Linked DNA regions of Homo sapiens: region 1 is linked to region 2. Evidence: promoter capture Hi-C in human tissues and cell types (Jung and others, 2019). All regions are on one chromosome and are shown on one strand. The core of a region is centred on a gene start or on the middle of the fragment in contact, and the rest is flanking DNA. Distances in the headings are between cores, read along the strand shown. Region 1 has its middle 13 kb from the start of LINC02779. Region 2 holds the start of MARK1 (microtubule affinity regulating kinase 1).

Region 1 (7,783 bases), core at 102-2,601, 51 kb after region 2:
CTCGCCCTGTCACCCAGGCTGGAGTGCAATGGTGTGATCTTGGCTCACTGCAACCTCTGCCTCCTGGGTTCAAGCAATTCTCCCGCCTCAGCCTCCTGAGTAGCTGGGACTACAGGTGCCCGCCACCACACCTGGCTAATTTTTTGTATTTTTAGTAGAGATGGGGTTTCGCCATGTTGGCCGGGCTGGTCTCAAACTCCTGACCTCGTGGTCCACCTGCCTCAGCCTCCCAAAGTGCTGGGATTACAGGTGTGAGCCACCACACCTGGCCAAAATAATATAAAACTTTCTAGATTCATTTCCATTTTTTTTGCTATATATTTACTCACAACTTGCTTGGTGGCTAAAGAAACTTAAAAATCCCTTGCGAGCTTTGGATTAATTTAATAATCAAAAGACAACTCCAGGTTTTATTAAATGTCCCACTGTATACTATTTGGCTATCTTTTTTTTTTTTTAAGTACAAGGACTGAGCCTGAGAGTAATAATGAAAATTATGATTATTACCACTAATAATAATATTATCAGTAGGAAAATTCTCTATATGTATTCAATCAAATATATTTTCAGGGGGTAAATTTAACCCTAGAAAATAGCTGAATATTATGCAGAATGGTGTGCTCCCGCTATAAGGCATGAATGGAGTTCATCACTATCACTGGTGAATGGAACTGAGAGGAGCATGGAAGGACTCAAGCTGGGATTATCATCCAGAGAAGTAGGAGTATAGCAGATCTAGAAGCAAAAGGACACAAAGAGTAGGCATTGAGAAAGATGGAAACCTAATCACAGGTTCTAGAGAATTCCCCAACACAGTTTCAGGCCCTGCCCTCAGTGCTTCATAGAACAAGTAGGATGAGACTTGTACCAGCACACATACATCTTCTGGACCTGGCTGTCAGAGACACAGGGGCTGGGCATGGCTGAAGCAAGGCACAGACTGATGGACACTGATTCAGGAAATATCTACTTGTCACCAGGATAGCAGGTCAAGTGAATTGGTTTGACCAAATAACCAGTTAATTTGATATAAAAGGGTCAGATTGGTGGTTTGAAATTCATTAGTCGGTATTCAAAGCGAAGAAAACTGTAGCCTGTACAAACTTATAAATAGGTTTTTGGTCTAGCTATCAGGGTAAAAGAGCTGCAAAATTCATCTGAAAAGTAATAAAGCATATACAAATGTCAAATATTATCACTATGCTATTATTTTCCTGCACCTCCATTATTGGATTCATTTATTCTAAGTATCACACTTCCAGTCTGGGCATGAAAGCTAAATTACTGTATTGCAGAAAATGTACATTTTGGGACCTACCCTGGATTGTTTTAGCATGCAAATAAAACTATATTAATTGCCACTGATGGCAGTCATGGATTTCTTAGGACTTTTTATCTGCAACCAAACTAATTGGCCTTGAATCCATTCTGACAACATTTTAATTATTCACTAGTTAATAATTCTTAAAAGCAACTTCAACATTAAAATGTCTCTAAGAGCATGTATAAAGCTATTCAATCCCAAATAATAATTTTATACAATATTCATATCAACCTAAATATTCTCTGCGATCTTTATAAATTTATGTAACATATTTTTGTATTCAGAAAATAACCTTAAAATTCTATGGCTGTGTATAGCACCCTTTGCATGATATGTATGCATATTCCCCAAACGCCTTGTTTATTCACATAGTTTGAGTTTCTCTGATGTCAATTTAAAAAGAAAATGAATTGAGAAATCATTTTTTTTTTAAAAAGCCTAGTTCCTACTGTTTGTACAACTATACGATGGAGAGTATGAAGAAACACAAGTACTACACTCTGTTGGAGGTCTGCTCATATCCCCCAAAGAAACCTTTACAACGAGTCAACACAGGAAAACAATTGAAAGTAAAAAATATATATAAATGCCACTAGACAATAATAGATTTGTTTCCCGACTTAAGCTGGGATCCCCAGATGAGGATTTGTGTGAAAGTGATTTGGGGAGTAGGAAAGTAGGACCAGGAAGGGAAATCCCATAAAGGGTAACTTCCGCTCAGTCTTTCAGTCTTTGGAGACCATGTTCTGGTCCGGGGCCAGGGAGCTGGGGTAATTATTCCTCCTGTCCATCAGCCCTTAAGATGAGGCACCCTGGGTCGGGAGAGTGATGGCCACTTATATTAAATAAATTTCCAGGCACTTCCTGCTGTCTGCACTAGCAGGAAAAGTGGGTCATCACTGCTTAAAAGTAGCCTTACAACAGAGAGATGTGGGTGCTTGCTCTAAGGAGTGGAAGCTCACACTGAGAGGTGACAGCGTGCTGGCAGTCCTCACAGCCCTCACTTGCTCTTGGCGCCTCCTCTGCCTGAGCTCCCACTTTGGCGGCACTTGAAGAGCCCTTCAGCCCACCGCTGCATTGTGGGAGCCCCTTTCTGGGCTGGCCAAGGCCGGAGCTCACTCCCTCAGCTTGCGGGGAGGTGTGGAGGGAGAGGCGCGAGCAGGAACCGGGGCTGCGTGCGGAGCTTGCGGGCCAGCTGGAGTTCTGGGTGGGCGTGGGCTTGGCGGGCCCTGCACTCGGAGCAGCCGGCCGGCCCCGCACTCGGAGCAGCCGGCCGGCCCTGCCGGCCCCGGGCAGTGAGGGGCTTAGCACCCGGGCCAGCGGCTGCGGGGGGTGTACTGGGTCCCCCAGCAGTGCCGGCCCACCGCCGCTGTGCTCGATTTCTCGCCAGGCCTTAGCTGCCTTCCCACGGGGCAGGGCTCGGGACCTGCAGCCCGCCATGCCTGAGCCTCCCACCCTCTCCGTGGGCTCCTGTGCCGCCCGAGCCTCCCCGACGAGTGCCGCCCCCTGCTCCACGGCGCCCAGTCCCATCGACCCCCCAACGGCTGAGGAGTGCGAGCGCACAGCACCGGGACTGGCAGGCAGCTCCACCTGCAGCCCCCGTGCTGGATCCACTGGGTGAAGCCAGCTGGGCTCCTGAGTCTGGTGGGGATGTGGAGAGTCTTTATGTATAGCTCAGGGATTGTAAATACACCAATCGGCACTCTGTATCTAGCTCAAGGTTTGTAAACACACCAATCAGCACCCTGTGTCTAGCTCAGGGTTTCTGAATGCACCAATCGACACTCTGTATCTAGCTACTCTGGTGAGGTCTTGGAGAACCTTTATGTCTAGCTCAGGGATTGTAAACGCACCAATCAGCGCCCTGTCAAAACAGGCCACTGGGCTCTACCAATCAGCAGGATGTGGGTGGGGCCAGATAAGAGAATAAAAGCAGGCTGCCCCAGCGAGCAGAGGCAACCCTCTGGTTTCCTTTCTACTGTGTGGAAGCTTTGTGTTTTTGCTCTTTGCAATAAATGTTGCTATTGTTCATTTTTTGGGGCCACGCTGCTTGCATGAGGTGTAACACCGCGAAGGTCTGTAGCTTCACTCCTGAACCAGCGATCCCACGAGCCTATTGGGAGGAATGAACAACTACAGACACGCCGCCTTACGAGCTGTAACACACACTGGGAAGGTTTGCAGCTTCATTCCTGAGCCAGTGAGACCACGAATCAACCAAAACAAAGAAACTCCGAACACATCTGAACATCAGAAGGGACAAACTACAGACGTGCCACCTTAGGCGTGCTGTGAGCTGTACCACTCACCACGAGGGTTCTCGGCTTCATTCTGGAAGTCAGTGAGACCAAGAACCCACCAATTCCGGACACAACATCAGTGTGATCACTGTGCCTGGAAATGGCCAAATGTGCTAATGGGATATAAGCAGACCTCTGACAGCATCTGATCACCTCTAATGTGGTGGTATTAGGCTGGACATGATCAATTGCCAAATTATTAGCTGTATAGGCAATTATCGCTGGAACAGATGAGAGAAAGAAGAAATCTGATCACAGAAGCATCTGCTCAGGTTGCCTTACTGTAAATTTCACAGGGACAGATTTGCCCCAGTTCATTGTCACCTGTGATTGGGTAAGTCCACCTACTTCTGGGGTTTGGTGTAAAGAAGACACTTGCCCAGAGATATAAATCACATTCTACAATAATGCATTATCAGTGTAAAAAAAAGGTGAATTTTGATCTCCATCTACTTTACTCTCTATATATTTCTTAATTACACGAGTACTCAGGTGAGGAAATGGAGTGCTATTTATTGGGCCTTCATGAACCTCAATAAACAATAATAATTAACATTTATTGAGTGCTATGTGCCAGGAAGAAGTCTAAGTACTTTACAAAAATGGTCTTACTGCATCTTTTCAACAGCCCTATGACATAGGTCCTTTTTGCACTTTTTAAATTGTGGAGACTGAGGTACAGAGAGGTTAACTATCTTGTCCAAGACCACACTGCTGTAATATGAAATGAGGATTTTAACACAAAGTCAATCTAGTTATGAAGTCTATACCTTTAACCACTAGATTAAAGACAACTGAAGTGAGAGCAAGAAGATTTACAAAGGCTTCTGTAGCCAGAGGATAATGACTGTACCACAGAAGCCACAGGATAGGTTTTTTAGTGAGGACCATGATGGAGAATTAGAACTTACAGGATCAGTGAGACCCAAGGTAGGCTGAGATCACAATGAGAACCACAGGGTTTTAACCCAGCTGAAAGAACAAACCAGAAGTTTGCTAGCCACACCTCAGTGGACAGTAGTGTAAAGAGACTCACAGACCCGACCAGACCAGAAATCTATCACCTGGGACCAGAGAAGTCTGAGAGGGGAGTTACAAGGATAATCAAAAGGTACCAACTTCTCTTCCTCCAATGCCACAAGGTTACATAGGGACTCACCATTCCCAATAAACCCAGATTTCACATTGATTGGTTTACACCGTGTCTCAGGTGTAACTATTTATTCTGCTTTGGATTCATAGTGCTTCTCAAATCTGTGGATTGATGCCTTTCATCAGTTTTGGAATACATTCTTGTAACAATGAATGATGGGGATACATTCTGAGAAACATGACCTTAGAAAACATTGTCATTGTGTGAACAGCATAGAGCATACTTACACAAAACTAGATAGTATAACCTACTACACACCTAGGCTATGTGGTAGAGTCTATTGTTGCTGGCTACAAACCTGTGCGGCATCTTACTGCACTGAATACTGTAGGCAACTGTAACGAAATGGTAAGTATTTGTGTATCTAAATATAGAAAAGTACAGTAAGAATATGGTATTATAATCTTTTTGGACCACCTTTGTATTTGCGGTCTGTTGTTTACTGAAACATTTTTATGTGGTACGTGACTGTATTCTCAGCCATTATCTCTTCAAATGTTGTTTATTCCTCATTCTCACTTTCCTGCCCTTCTGGGACTCAAATTAAAATGTTTTAAGCTTTCCATCATATAAATATTATCATTTATTGTTAATTACTTTTTTAAAATATTGTAATATTGGGGGATTTTCTTCCATTATAGCTTCTAGGTGATTGTGATTTCTGTATCTGATATGTATTGGTTTCTTTATGTTAATTTTGTGCCCTTCCTTCTTGTTGAATTATTTTATTGTTTGTAATAGTTTTGCAGTTGATTCACCTAGGTCTTCATGTTATCTGAAAATAGTAATAGCTCCATCGATATATAAATGGATTCAGAAAATATGGTATATATACACAATGGATACAATTCAGTCATAAAAAATAATGAAATTATGTCATTTGCAGCAACATGGATGGAACTGGAGGTTATGTTAAGTGAAATAAATCAGGAACAGAAAGACAGATGCCACATGTCCTCATTCATATATGAGAACTAAAAAATAATTGGCCTCATGGAGATAGAGAATAGAATGACAGATACTAGAGGCTGGTAAGAGTGTTTGGGTGGGAGGAAGAATAAAGAGAGGTTGATTAGTGGGTATAAGCATACAGTTAGAACAAATAAGCCCTGATATTCAATAGCAGAGTAGGGTGACTATAGTTAGCAACATTGCATAGTATTTTTCAAAGTAGCTAAAAAAGAGGACTTTAAATGTTACCAACATATAGAAATGATCCTCAGGGTGATAGATACCCCAAACACCCTGACCTAATCACTACACATTCTGTGCACGTAACAAGTACTCGTGTGTATCCCGTAAATATGTAAAATATTTTGTATCAATAAAAAAATAGTAATAGCATTACCTCTTCCTTTCCAATTTCATACTTCCATTTTTTTTCTTTTTGCTAATTGCACCGACTACTACCTCCTGCACAGTATGAAATGACGATAGTGGGTATCCCTGTCATGTTTCTGACATCAAAGGTAATAATCTCAGTTTTGGGGCAAAAAAACAAAAAAGCTTTATCTTATCATTTTAAGGATCTGTCTTTTCCTATCATACTGAGTTTTGTTTTGTTTTAAGTCAATAATGGTTGTTGACTTTTGCCAAATCCTTTTCAGCATTTATAGAGAGGATCAATAGTTTATCTTCTAAAAACTATTAATTCGATGAATTATATTAACAGATTTCCTAGGTCCAGGCATGGTGGCTCACCCTGTAATCCCAGCACCTTGGGAGATTGAGGCGGGAAGATCACCTGAGGTCAGGATTTTGAGACCAGCCTGGCCAACATGGTGAAACCCTATCTCTACTAAAAATAACAAAATTAGCCAAGTGTGGTGGCACATGCCTATAATCCCAGCTACTCGGGAGGCTGAGACAGGAGAATCACTTTAACCCAGAGGTGGAGGTTGCAGTGAGCTGAGACTGTGCCATTGCACTCCAGCCTGGGCAAAAAAGACCATTCCCCCCATCAAAAAAAAAAAAAAAAAGATTTCCTAAACCATTTTTGCCCTCCTGAACTAAATCTTACTTGTCCATAATATTAATTTCATATTTTTATGGATTATATTCTCCAATATTTTATTCAGGATTATTGCATTGACATTTATAAATGGATTTGATCTTTAGTTATGCTTGGTTTTTTAAAAGAAGAAAGTTTTTACTAACACAAGTTTATCTTAATTCACATTTCAATTTTAATATTAAATAGTCCAAGATTTTCATTTATTAACACTTTATTCCAGTTTAGTCCTCTTAAATTCATTTGCTTGCTGTGCATTTATATTTAACAGGTAAAAGCTATGAATTACCAGCTATTTTTTTAAAAAGGTAACTAACTTTGGGAGGCCAAGGCAGGCGGATCAGGAGGTCAGGAGATCAAGACCATCCTGGCTAACACGGTGAAACCCCATCTCTACTAAAAATAGAAAAAAAATTAGCAGGGCATGGTGGTGGGCACCTGTAGTCCCAGCTACTTGGGAGGCTGAGGCAGAAGAATGGCGTGAACCCGGGAGGCAGAGCTTGCAGTGAGCTGAGATGGCACCATTGCACTCCAGCCTGGGCGACAGAGCGAGACTCTTTCTCCAAAAAAAAAAAAAAAAAAAAAAAAAAGTAACTAACTGCACTGGAAAATGGAAAATGAAAATTTATAAAATTGTATCATTAGATCAGAGTTTAAAAAATCAAAAGATAAGGATTTGTTTAACAATCTTTTATTATTAGGGCATTACACCTTTTCAGAACAAGGATAATTTGCAGAAATTATACAAGATAACTTTTTATCAAATATCAATATTTAGCAAAGTTTTATTTAGCTGAAATGTTATTTCACTAGTAAAAACTATCTTCAGTTACAAAAAAAATCAGAAATCTTATTAAATTTAACCTGCTTTTATAAATGTGCTAAGAAGTCTTAAGCTAAACATATTTGAAGTAGAAAAATGATAATTTTAAAATATTTTGTTATACTGTTTCTGTGGTTGATGTACATATATTAACTGATCTCTTTGATAGGAA
Region 2 (6,692 bases), core at 2,104-4,603:
ATGTTTATATTAACTGCAAACGACAACGAAATATCAAGATGGTGTTTTAAATTACTGTATTTGTTGATTTTAATTTCTAAGGAAAATAAAATGTTTTTAGTTAGTGTCCTTGATATACCAAAGGACTTAGAACCCTTTAATAGTCATATGAATATAAAAGTTTTGTAACTATTTTTAAAAATATGTCATGTAATTGAAAATGACTATAAACAAAAATACATTTTGGCTGCCATACTGGCATTAATATATTAGCTAACAAGCAGGCTTGTTACTTTATTTCATCGATGAGAAGTAAAAATGGATGATGCCATTTACTACCAACTAGAGAATAAAGAGAGTCACCAATGGTGATTTCGTAGCCATCAGTGGTGGCCTCTTTGATAAACACCTATAACACCTATAAACCAATTTAGCCCTATTTACACAATGTCTTCTACCATACATTACTTGTTTGGGATTATTATCTCTTCTGTAAGCTCCTTGCAGGGAGAGACTTTATCTTAAACACTACTTCTATATCCCCTTCCCAACCCTTTACCTAAAAAATGAACATGCTGAGTGCATACTTATTAATTGACAGGTGTCATATAATAGATATTTTCCACAGCAATTAGGAGAAAATAAGGTGTGGGTAAAGTAAGCTAAATGGAGATATCATTATGTACAACACAATAAGGCACAAGACCATAAAAGTGACTTTGAAATAACATGTTCAGAAACAGCAAATCAGTTTATACAGCATAATCATTTTCAGAAGGTACTCACAACAAAATTTATCATACTATTATTGCTTAGCTTTAAAATCCTTTTTTGTGTGTTCTTACATGAGAAGCTGCATTTTGTGCTATTCCTTAATGCATATTTCTATAATTATATCTCATGTCTTTATGAAGTACCTTATTCATACAAGTATGAGAAAAGCTATACTATTCAAAATCTAAAAGAAAATAAAAACAATGTATTTTTCCACTCCTCCTGGGTTAACACATACAGTAATTTGCTAATAAAAACAAAGGTTATCATCTGTCATACTTTTCATTCACACTCTTGAATGACAGGCATTTTTTTAATGTTCCTGTTAGAAAAATTCTGTGCCAACTCGGCTTTAAAACCAACTCAAACCAAAATATCCATCTTTTTCTCTGAACTTGTTCAATCTCTCAATCAAAATTATGTATCAATTATATTTTCTAAAATAGTTATGATGCAAATGAAGTTCTAATTTATGATAGCAGCAGCCTTACACTATCTTTCCCATTTAAATGCACGGCGCTAGGGAAGACAAAAGCATACTCTGAAACATCTTCACAGGTCCTCTAACAATGGTCTCTTAGTAGAATTTCTTCTCTCTTTGTATAGTTATATTAAATTTCTGTGCTTCCCTCCTAAGATGAAATCATCTGTTTATACCCCTCCAACAACTCAGAAGTGAGCTTGTATCCTTTCTCTCATGCCTTTTGTCTAAGAACACCAAAGCGCTTCGTTATTTTATTTTACCAACCCCATGAAGTCAGTGGTATATCAAAAGCTGGACGGCTGATGAGATAACTAGACAGAGAGCTCTGGACAGCTGACCAAAACTTAGTACCCCTCTAGGTCCTTAAAATCAGTCGGAAAATCAGCCAAGCCCTATTTACAGGTCTTGAGTGTTTTAAACAAAAACAAAAACAAGAAAACCTTCCCACAAAGGAACTTGCACACACACACACAACTGTACTTTTCAGAAGGTGGAAATACAAGGGATCTTGTTCTTTTCGTTTTTCAAGAGTTTAAAAGCCCGGCACATCTGCATCTTGATAACAGCTCCAGAGGGCAATCTGATCAAAGACACAGAAAATCCCTCCTTTAAAGATGTGCACCTTGTGACACTCCAAGGAGGAGAGATATTTAAAGTAAAACCTGCCCTGCATCATTATCACTGACTTAAGGAAGAGATTAAAAAGCCCTTGGCTTCATGTGGCTTTTCAACATTTTGCTGTAACCCCAGGGCCATAGATGCTGTTCGTGAAATTCTTCTACTCATCCCTACTAAGAGTGTCACAGCAGTATAAACTCATACACAAACACGCACACATCTCCACTTCCATTCCCATCCTTCTCGCTTTGGTGCCCATGACCCAAAATGTGGACACAATGTTACAAAAAGCAAAGTCATGGGGCAATGCGGGGGGAGGAGGGGAGAGTGCAAAGGATTGAAAGATCCAGAAAAGCAAGAGTGTGAGAGGTAGCCGGCTCGTCTGCTATTGTAAAGCAAGCATTCATTCGGGTGGGGGCACAGAATGCAGAGGTAGAAATAAAGCAATCCTGACTGCCCACTCTGCCATCCCATTCTGCTTCTCTGCCCTCCATCACCCCATCCGCCCCTGGAGGACCACCTCCGAGCGAGAGGGCGCCACTTACGGTTCCCTACCCTCACCCTTGAGGGGAAACAAGCGAAATGGGGTTGGAATGAAGAATAGGGCTGAGCAGTGGGTGAGGGTCACGCCGGGCTCCAGGTGGAGACCCTGCCGCGGGTGGCCGCGCCGAGGCACGGGGGACGGCCCAAGCGCGGGTGAAGTGGGGATCAGAGGAGGGTCTCGCCCCCACTGCTCCCGAGGGAGGCTCCGGTTACTCACATTTTCCGTGTCCCGCTCGTTCACCGTCGGCAATGGCGTCCGGGCCGACATTTTGTGCGGGCAGCGGGGTCTGGCCGGGGTCTCGCCGGCCGGGCTGTGGTGCGGGCCCCGGGGGGCGACAGGAAAGGGGTGCGGACGCGAGCACAAGGCCGGGGCGAGCGGCTCCCGCAGGCCGCGGGGCGGTGCAACAAGCGGCCCCGGCGGGGGAAAGAGGGAAGAGGACGCGGAGGAAGAGGAGGGGGAGCCGCTTCCCGCGGCGGCGCCGCCGGGGTATGCGGACAGTAACGAGGGAGGGCTTCGGGCGAGGCGGTTGCCCGGCGCTGGCGGGGCGGCGAGGCTGGCAGGATGAGGCGTGGAAGGGGAGCCGGGAGGCGGTGGCGAGCCCCGCTAGGCTCTCCGGACCATGGGTGAAGGTGAAGCCGGTGCCTCAAATCACTGCCTGGCTCGTCCTGGCGAGCGCCTGGGCGTCAGGAACCGCGGCCCTGACAGCGTCACCCGCGCCGCGCCCCGTTCTCCGCCTCAGGTGTACGGCGCCGCCCGACCCAGCCGCATCCACGCGCCCGGGGCCCAGCGGCGGCGGCGCCCGATCCCCCGGCGCGAATGTCTCGGCTCGGTCCGCGCGGTCACAGCCACCGCCGCCGCCGCGCCTCAGTCAGGAGGAGCGGCCCGAGCCGGCTGCGCGCGGAGCAGCGGGCGCGGCACGCAGCGCCCAGAGGCACTTGGCGGCCGCCGCCGGGTGGGCGGGCGCCAGCCGAGGGGGCCTCTCCATTCATTCCCTCATTAGGGATGCGGGGCCGCCTCCTCCTCCTCCTCCTCCTCCTTTTTCTCCTCCTCCTCCTCCCGCGCTCTCTTGCCCGCCTGTCCCTGTGTTTATTTTTGTTTCGTGCCCCACCCGCAGAGTTTACGGTCGTCTAAGAGCCTCTGGTGGTTTTATTTTTATTCGTGTTTGGTTTTTGCCGGGTTGAGGGTGAGAGAGAGCTGATGTGAATCAGTGGCTTTTTTTTTTCTTTTTCTTTCTTTCTGTTTTTGTTTGTTTGTTTGTTTGTTTGTCCGTTTCATTGGAGAAGAATTGGATTCAATCCTACCCTGGATCCTACCCCTCCTTTTCTCCTACCTCGGGACTTTTACCATTCTTAAATTCTACTCCTCCTCCCCCGTTTCCACGCTTTCTCAATCCCTATCCTCGCCTGAGCCCTCTGTCAGTCTCCTTCTCTAGGGAGCCGTTAGGTTCAGGGTCACCCTCAGAGTTTGGCAAAAAGCACAGAAGCCCCTAGAAGCGCCAGCAGCCTAGGGAGGCGGCTGGAGACTCAGTACAAGTGGGTCTCAGCCCCCGACGGCGCGGCCTCTTCGGGAATGGGGCCGGCGGAAGACGTCTCGCTCTGGGCGCCCTGCAGCACCCTCGGAGTGGGTGAGACCCGCGAGTCACAACATCTACACTGGCTGATCGTCACTTCCTGGGACACAAGGAAGTGTCACTTAGGCGAGCCTGTTTAGGGAGGATGGAGAGCTGTGTCTGATTTGGGCCCTGTCCTCCCTCTTCCAGGTGGCTTCCTCACACTTCCACCCACCTGCCTCAAGACATCCTGTAGGCACCCGCGTCTGTAGTGCATTGTCCAGGACCCATTCGCCTTTTATAAGCAAGGCTGCATTTTTTTTTAATCTCATTTGAGAGCTTACATTTTGCACATTCAGCCTGTAGAACGAAAACCTTATCGTCTCTCTATTCTTCTTTGCAACATTTCTTTTTCACTTCCTTTCATGGATGGGCAGGAAGACAAAAGGAATGAAAGATAGGAGCGGATACATTGATTTTCTGAGCTGCTTCAGTATGCCTCCAGTGGAATTCTTATAATGGTGGGAAATTTCTCGTCTCTTCTGAATTTCCTCCATTTGAAAGAAGAATCCCTGAACCAGATGGTTTTTATCCTGACTCATTAAAGGTTGTTTCTGAAAAGTTAACACTTGACCCTTGAAGCATGGGTCCAAAAGACCTGAAAATAGCAAACACAAAAATCCTTTGAGGAAAGAAGCAATTCTCACCCAGTCTATATTCACTTCTAGAACACCATCTGTGTACTTATTTCTTTAGCATTTTCTCTTGTAACCACTTACCAATTTCACAAAGCAAATGAAAAAAAAAAAAAAAACAAGATCCCTTTGGTGGTCATCACCACTTCTCAAACAGAATTTAGGCAGCGGAACTGCAATGCTGCCTCCTGAACTATGATGTGTTACTGAGAATGTCAAGCATTTACGTGCCCTCTGCAGAAAATCCTGAATCACCAAGATACATTGAAGTTGCAAGGGCATAATCCTGTATTTTTCTGGTTATTTTCTGGTTAACTATTGCGACGGCTGCCTGTAGGGGCTGCCATCACAGTGTCAGCGGCATCACTGACTGCTGCAGCCACACAAGGGTACCTAGTGTTGCAATAGTACCTGAGTTAACCTAGCAATAAACAAGTAGCTGTGAAAAGGCGTTCAGCCCCATTGGAATATGAATCATTCCTTCAGCTGGTAGTATGTATTTTGCTCTTTAAAGTATACTCACATATTTTTCTATCTTTATAATCGTGGTGACCCTGACAGGCATATTTATTTCCATTTTACAAAATTCCACTAAGTTAACTTGTTCAAGATCACAGATGCACCAGGTTAATAAGATACAGAAGAAGATAACTGAAATATGTGGTGCTGTTCAATCTTGCACCAGTCACAAAAACCATAGGTTCACCCCATAAGATATAATGGCTAATTCGAGACAGAGCTTAAAGGAGAGCCCCAGATTCTGGCACAGTGGCTTCCACAGATTTTAAAGTGTCTGTTAAAAGCCATGGACAAATCCCTTAGCTATATTTGCTACACAATGCTCACTATTTCACATATTGAAATTTACGGAATATCACATAATAATAGGAAGGGATATTTATTGTTTAAGTCAATCCCCAAGAACACTTCTAACAGTGAAACTACATTCAAAGAGAGTCATTACTAGGTAGCTCGAATCCATAATTCTAGCTAGCCAAATTGTTTTTTTGGATAGAACAATTCTATCCAAAAGAAAATGCCATTCAAATAATCCTTATTAATACCTAACAATTTTAAGCTTGGTATGTAGTGAAAACTAAGTGAAAATGCACTTTGCCCAGGTTAAAAAAAAAGTCACTATGTTTTTCAAAAGGAAATACTGTCTGTCCCTATATGAGCTCTTCTCCCCTTAAAATGGCATTAGTAGATCCTTAAACATGGGAGAGGAAAAAAAAATGACATGAGGCATTATTGTGATGGAGTCAATACTGTTTAACCCTAGTCCTTAGAAATGAAAATGCTCATGAGCAAAATTTTTTTGTGTTACTATATATAGCTTCTGTGTCTGTGACTATGGAGAAATGACAAAGGGAATATTTTAAGGCTTTGAGTAATTTTTTTTTGGGTTATTAACCAAATGTGGCATGTTCAATTCACAGGTTCCTAACTTAATGTGTTAGGGTAATGAAAGTTTTGGAAGAAAATTGAAGTACTGACAAAACAAAAGGGAAATAAAGATCTAAAAGGTGCTAAACCTACAGTGAAAAGTGGGAAAAGAGCATTGCCTACCGTCAGCCCTATGGAGTAGAATTTTTTAGAACTACCGGGTCCAGTACCAGTTACATGTGACTACTGAGCTCTTGACATGTTGCTTGAATTTTTAATTTGACTCAATTTCAAATAATTTACACTTAAAAACCGATTTGATTCAGTGACTGAAAAAATTGTGTTATGTTTGAAAGTATGTTAAGTATATGAATCTACTTTTTCAACTGTAAATTTTCTGAAATCTATATACCGATTAAGTATTTCTCATGGAAATGTATTACCTGAATTGGGATGTGCTATAAATATAAAATGCACACCACATTTTCAAATAGTAGGAAAAAAAAGAGAGTAAGATGTCTCTTTATAAATATTATAACCATTTCATATTGAAATGCCAATATTTTAATATATTAGGTTAAATAAAATATATTATTAAATCATTTTCAACTGTTTCTTTTTTACTTTTTCAAATGCAGATCCTAAAAAATATAAACTTACATA

The links. Contacts are between HindIII fragments. The study calls those that stand out against the background at their distance.
Region 1: a contact is called between a fragment that was not itself captured here and the fragment with the promoter of MARK1 in region 2, in 1 of the 25 tissues and cell types used here (aorta).

Annotation. Positions count from the first base shown.
Region 1 is chr1:220,470,765-220,478,547 of GRCh38, reverse strand. No RefSeq gene overlaps it. Among named protein-coding and RNA genes, the nearest start is that of LINC02779, 13 kb to the left of the region's middle. The HindIII fragment of the contact is 5,947 bases long and covers 1-4,324 here.
Region 2 is chr1:220,524,797-220,531,488 of GRCh38, reverse strand. It overlaps MARK1 (microtubule affinity regulating kinase 1), which reads right to left and starts at 3,353. Exons shown (of 18, transcript NM_018650.5): 1 at 2,616-3,353. The coding sequence starts at 2,666. RefSeq lists a silencer at 2,990-3,289. The HindIII fragment of the contact is 13,581 bases long and covers 1-6,692 here.